2 separate regions of the Homo sapiens genome follow, and region 2 is linked to region 1. The links are contacts of gene promoters, found by promoter capture Hi-C in human tissues and cell types (Jung and others, 2019). All regions are on one chromosome and are shown on one strand. The core of a region is centred on a gene start or on the middle of the fragment in contact, and the rest is flanking DNA. Distances in the headings are between cores, read along the strand shown.

The links. Contacts are between HindIII fragments. The study calls those that stand out against the background at their distance.
Region 2: a contact is called between the fragment with the promoter of CCL22 here and a fragment that was not itself captured in region 1, in 2 of the 25 tissues and cell types used here (adrenal gland and thymus).

Annotation. Positions count from the first base shown.
Region 1 is chr16:57,491,529-57,494,305 of GRCh38, forward strand. No RefSeq gene overlaps it. Among named protein-coding and RNA genes, the nearest start is that of DOK4, 6.4 kb to the left of the region's middle. The HindIII fragment of the contact is 9,222 bases long and covers 1-2,777 here.
Region 2 is chr16:57,357,291-57,360,099 of GRCh38, forward strand. It overlaps CCL22 (C-C motif chemokine ligand 22), which reads left to right and starts at 1,493. Exons shown (of 3, transcript NM_002990.5): 1 at 1,493-1,599. The coding sequence starts at 1,527. The HindIII fragment of the contact is 38,120 bases long and covers 1-2,809 here.

The DNA of each region.
Region 1 (2,777 bases), core at 225-2,724:
GTTTTATAGCAATATTCCTTATTTCACTTCTGATGTAGGTATTTGTGTCTTCTCTGACATTTTTACTCTGTCAGTCTTGCTGGAGGTTTGTCAATTTTATTGATCTGTTCAAAAAAACCAAATCTTTGTTCCACTAATTCTCTCTCTCTCCCTCTCTCTCTCTTTCTCTCTCTCTCATTTTAGATTTCATTGATTTCTGCTCTTATCTTTATTATTCCCTTACTTCTGCTGGTTTTGAATTTATTTTGCTGTTTTTTTCTAGGTCTTTAAGGTGTCAGTCTATCAAGTTTAGATGATATAGAGTTCAGATGACAGATATAAGACTTTTCCTCTTTTCTAAGGTGAAATAAATGTCCATATTAGTGCTGCTTTAGGTGTATTCCACAAATTTTGATATGTTTTACTTTCGCTGTCATTCAGTTCAATGTATCTTTTAAAAAATTCCCTTGAAACGTTCTCTTTATCCATGGATCATTCAGAAGCGTACTGTTTAATTTCTAAGTATTTGGATAATTTCCTGTTCTCTTTGTGTTACTGATTTCTAGTTTGATTCCATTGTAGCCAGAAAAAAACACTCTGTAAGATTTCAATTCTTTTAAACTTGTTGAAGTTTGTTTTATGGCCAGGACATGGTCTATCTTGGTATATGTTCATGAGCACTTGAAAACAAGGTGTGGGCCCGGTGTGGTGGCTCACGCCTGTAATCCCAGCACTTTGGGAGGCTGAGGCGGGTGGATCACTTGAGGCCAGGAGTTTGAGACCAGCCTGGACAGTACGGTGAAACCCCATCTCTACTAAAAATACAAAAATTAGCCAGATGCGCTTGCTTGGACCCAGGAGGCGGAGGTTGCAGTGAGCCAAGATTGTGCCACTGCACTCCAGCATGGGCGACAGAGCAAGACTCTGTCTCAAAAAAGAAAAAAAAGAAAACACGGTATGTTCTGCTGTTCTGAGGTAGAGTGTTCTAAAAATATCAGTTAGATCCTGTTGGCTGATGCTGTGGTTAAGTTCTGCATCTTTTCTGATTTTATATCTAGTTGTACTATCAATAGCTGGAAAGAGGTGTTGCTATCTCCAACTATAAGTGTGGATTTGTCCATTTCTCCTTTCACTTCTATCAGTTTTTGTTTTGCATATTTTGTAGTTCTCTTGCTTGGTGCATGTGTATTAAGGATTTCTTTTCTTTTCTTCTTCTTTTTTTTTTTTTTTTTTTTTTTGATATGGAATCTTGCTCTGTCGCCTAGGTTGGAGTGCAGTGGTGCGATCTCGGCTCACTGCAATCTCCGCTTCCCGGGTTGAAGTGATTCTTCTGCCTCAACCTCCTGAGTAGCGGGGACTACAGGGGTGTGCCACCACACCTGGCTAATTTTTGTATTTTTTGTAGAGATGGGGTTTCACCATATTGGCCAGGCCAGTCTCGAAATCCTGATCTTGTGATCTGCCTGCCTCGCCCTGCCAAAGTGCTGGGATTACAGGCGTGAGCCACCATGCCCGGCCCTGTATTAAGGATTTCTATATCTTCTTGATAGATTGACACTTTTACTATTATATACCGTCCCTCTCTGTCTCTGGTAGTTTTCTTTGCTCTAGAGTCTACTGTGATGGTTAATTTTGTGTTAAGGGATACCAAGATAGGTGGAAAAGCATTATTTCTTTCTTTTCTTTTCTTTCTTCTTTTTATTTTTATTTTTTGCTAATTTATTTTTTTTGAGACAGAGTCTCGCTCCGTTTCTCAGGCTGGAGTGCAGTGGCGCGATCTCGGCTCACTGCAAGCTCCGCCTCCCAGGTTCACGCCAATCTCTCGCCTCAGCCTCCTGAGTAGCTGGGACTACAGGCACCCGCCATCACGCCCGGCTAATTTTTTATTTTATTTTATTTTATTTTTTGTATTTTCAGTAGAGACGGGGTTTCACCGTGTTAGACAAGATGGTCTCGATCTCCTGACCTCATGATCCACCCGCCTCGGCCTCCCAAAGTGCTGGGATTACAGGCGTGAGCCACCGCGCCCGGCCTCTTTTCTTTTCTTTTTAGATGGAGTCTCGCTCTGTTGCCCAGGCTGGAGTGCAGTGGCGTGATCTCGGCTCATTGCAAACTCTGCCTCCGGGTTCAAGGGATTCTCCCACCTCGGCCTCTGGGTAGCTGAAATTACAGGCGTGTGCCACCAAGCCCGGCTAATTTTTATAATTTTAGTAGAGACAGGGTTTCACCATGTTGGCCAGGCTGGTCTTGAATCCTGGCCTCAGGTGATCGCCCGCCTCGGCCTCCCAAAGTGCTGGGATTATAGGCATGAACCACTGTGCCTGGCCTCAGCCATTATTTCTTTGAGTACTTTTTTTAGCCTTGTCTTCCTTCTTCTCTCTTTCAGGGACTCTGATGGCACAAATACTAAATCTTTTGTTACAGTCCTACAGGTCCTGTATTTTTCAGTGTATTTTCTCTCTGTTGTTCAAATTGGGCAATTTCTATTGCTCTCTCTTCCAGTTCACTGACTCTTTCCTGTTCCCCAATTCTACTATTCAGCCCACCCACTGAGGTTTTTATTTCAGTTATTGTGTTTTTCAGTTCGAAAATTCCCACTGGATCTCTTTATACCTTCTGTTTCTTTGCTGAGACTTTCTATGTTTTATTTTTTACTTGTTTCAAGCATGTTCGCAGTTGGTCCTTGAAGCATTTTATGATGGCCACTTTAAAATCTTTGTCAGATAATTCCAACATCTCTGTCATCTCAGTGTTGAAATCTATTGATTGCCTTTTTTTCATTCAGTATGAGATTTTTC
Region 2 (2,809 bases), core at 243-2,742, 130 kb before region 1:
GCCTCTCACCGGATTCAAGCGATTCTCCTGCCTCTCAGCCCCCCAAGTAGCTGGGATTACAGGCGCATGCCATCACACCCGGCCAATTTTTGTATTTTTGGTAGAGATGGGGTTTCTCCATGTTGGCCAGGCTGGTCTTGAACTCCTGACCTCAGGTGATCCACCTGCCTGGGCCTTCCAAAGTGCTGGGATTACAGTCATGAATCACTGCACCCAGCCCATGTGTTCTGAGCACCCAACATGTGCCTGATCCTCAGAGGGCCCTGGGAATGCCAAGAAAAATGAAGGGAGACCCCAGCCTCCTAGAGCTTGGAGTCTGACTTCTAGGGAGGGGCTTGAGAAAGAGAAAACCTGACCCAGTCTGCTCAGGGCCACATTCCAGGTCCCCTAGAAGGCTTTGAAGTCCTGAGAGGGTGTGCTTACCAAGGACATGACATTTCAAACAGCTTTGACGCATAAGTAGGAGTTTATGTGGTAGAGATGTGGAAAGTGACATTAAAGGCCAGGGACAGGCCGCAGTCCCTTTTGAGGAAGTGTGAGGAGTGTGGTGTGATCCCTCAGGGGAAGGAGACCAGTGGGGAAAGGCCTGTCCGGAAACGGGGCCTTGAAGGCCACAGACAGGAGCCCGGGACCTGCCTTTAGGTGAATGGGGAGCCACGGCAGGGTTCTGAAGCAGGAGAGAGAGTGTGTAGCTCTGGACCACTCACGCTGGCTGCTGCAGGGTGGGGATGGCATTGAGGAGGCCAGCATCCCAGCCTGAGGTGGAGGTGGCCTGGACTGGGCAGGAACAGTGGGGTTGGAGAGAAGGAGCAGATCTGAGAGAGATTTAGGAAGCAGAATCAACGGGACATGGACATGGTGAGGGACTGAGACAGGAGTGGGGGAGGGAGAGCCCGGCAGCCACTGGGAAGGAAGATCAGGCAGGACAGAAGTGTGGGTAGATGCTTTCCATAAACCGTTGAGAAATCCACGACCTGGCCCAAATGTGGACTTCACGAGAAGCCCCAGATGGGTCAATGGGTCCATAGGCCTCTCCCATTGAAGAGAGACCAGTAATGCCGTCATTAAGGGTACAAGACAGGCCTCAATTCTAGGTGAGGGTTGGTCCACGTTCTCACTTGATTTACAACCAGTGAAGTCAACAGAGCTGTGAAACCATCTCCCCCATTTCCAGATGGGGAAACCAAGTCCCAGAGACACCCAGACATGGCCAAGGCCACACAGTGCAGAGACCCTGGGGAGCACAAGCCTCTAAGAGGGGGATTTTACAAGTCTGTCTGAAACCAGAGGCGAGGACAGAGTTGAGGGGGGGTCCCCTCTGAGTGGTTCCCCGCCAAAGAGAATTTCTCCACTTTGGAGGAAGTGGGAGGTAGTTCTTCTTTTGAGATGTGAATGTCAAGTGACTCTGGGCACCCCGGTGACTAAGAGGTAAGTAAGTGAGGCTTGTGGGTGGAGCCAGCACCTTAAATAGCAGGTCTTCCTATGTCCCTTTGCAGACACCTGGGCTGAGACATACAGGACAGAGCATGGATCGCCTACAGACTGCACTCCTGGTTGTCCTCGTCCTCCTTGCTGTGGCGCTTCAAGCAACTGAGGCAGGTGAGGCTGGGGAGCAGGAAGACCCCCTACAGAGGCCAGGGCAGACGGTGGGGTGTCTTCCTCATGTCTTGGACAAGCACTGGACCAAGAGCAGAAGACCTCAGTCTGCTGTTGGCTCTTGCGGCCTTCGGCTAGTTGCAGTGCTTCTCTGGGCCTCAGTTTACAAGTCTGTTGAATGGGCAGTCTTGAAGACTTGGAGTCTAGGATCTGTCTCACCTGGGTTGGGGGTTGTGGTGGGCATAGCCTCGGGATCTCCTGCCCCAGAAAACTCAAGCATAGGGCCCTAGGGGTGTGGGTGAGGAGCTTCTAAGGGTCAGGTCTGAGTGGGGGAAGGCAGGGCTGGGGCAAGGGGTTCTCCCTTGGAAAGCTGGTGCTGCCCTCCCACCATCCATTTTTTAAAATGTTATTATTATTATTTTTTATTTTATTTTATTTTATTTTTTGAGACACAGTTTCACTCTTGTTGCCCAGGATGGAGTGCAGTGGGGCAATCTTGGCCCACTGCAACCTCTACCTCCCAGGTTCAAGCGATTCTCCTGCCTCAGCCTCCTGAGTAGCTGGGATTACAGGCATGCACCACCACACCTGGCTAATTTTTGTATTTTTAGTGGAGACAGGGTTTCACCATGTTGGCCAGGCTGGTCTCAAACTCCTGACCTCAGATGATCCTCCCACCTCAGCCTCCCAAAGTGCTGGGATTACAGGCATGAGCCACTGCGTCTAGCCTAAATTTATTTTTTATTTCATTTTATTTATTTATTTTTTGAGATGGAGTCTCTGTTGCCCAGGCTGGAGTGCAGTGGCGCAATCTCAGCTCACTGCAACCTCCACCTCTGGAGTTAAAGTGATTCTCCTGCCTCAGCCTCCTGAGTAGCTGGGATTACAGGCACCTGCCACCATGCCCGGCTAATTTTTGTATTTTTAGTAAAGATGGGGTTTCACCATGCTGACCGGTCTTGTCTCGAACTCCTGACCTCAAGTGAAACTCCCATCTTGGCCTCCCTAAGTGTTAGGATTACAGGCGTGAGCCACTGCTCTGGGCTCACTATCCATTTTTGTCCAGAACCTGTCCTCAGCATGGATTCCTGACTCCTCTTCTCCACCCCACTCTATACTTTTGCTGTGTTGGGTGGAGGAGTGAGCACTGGAGTGGGGTCAGGCAGCTATAAACAAGAATTGCTCCCAGCTGCTGGGCTTTCTGAGTGCTTTT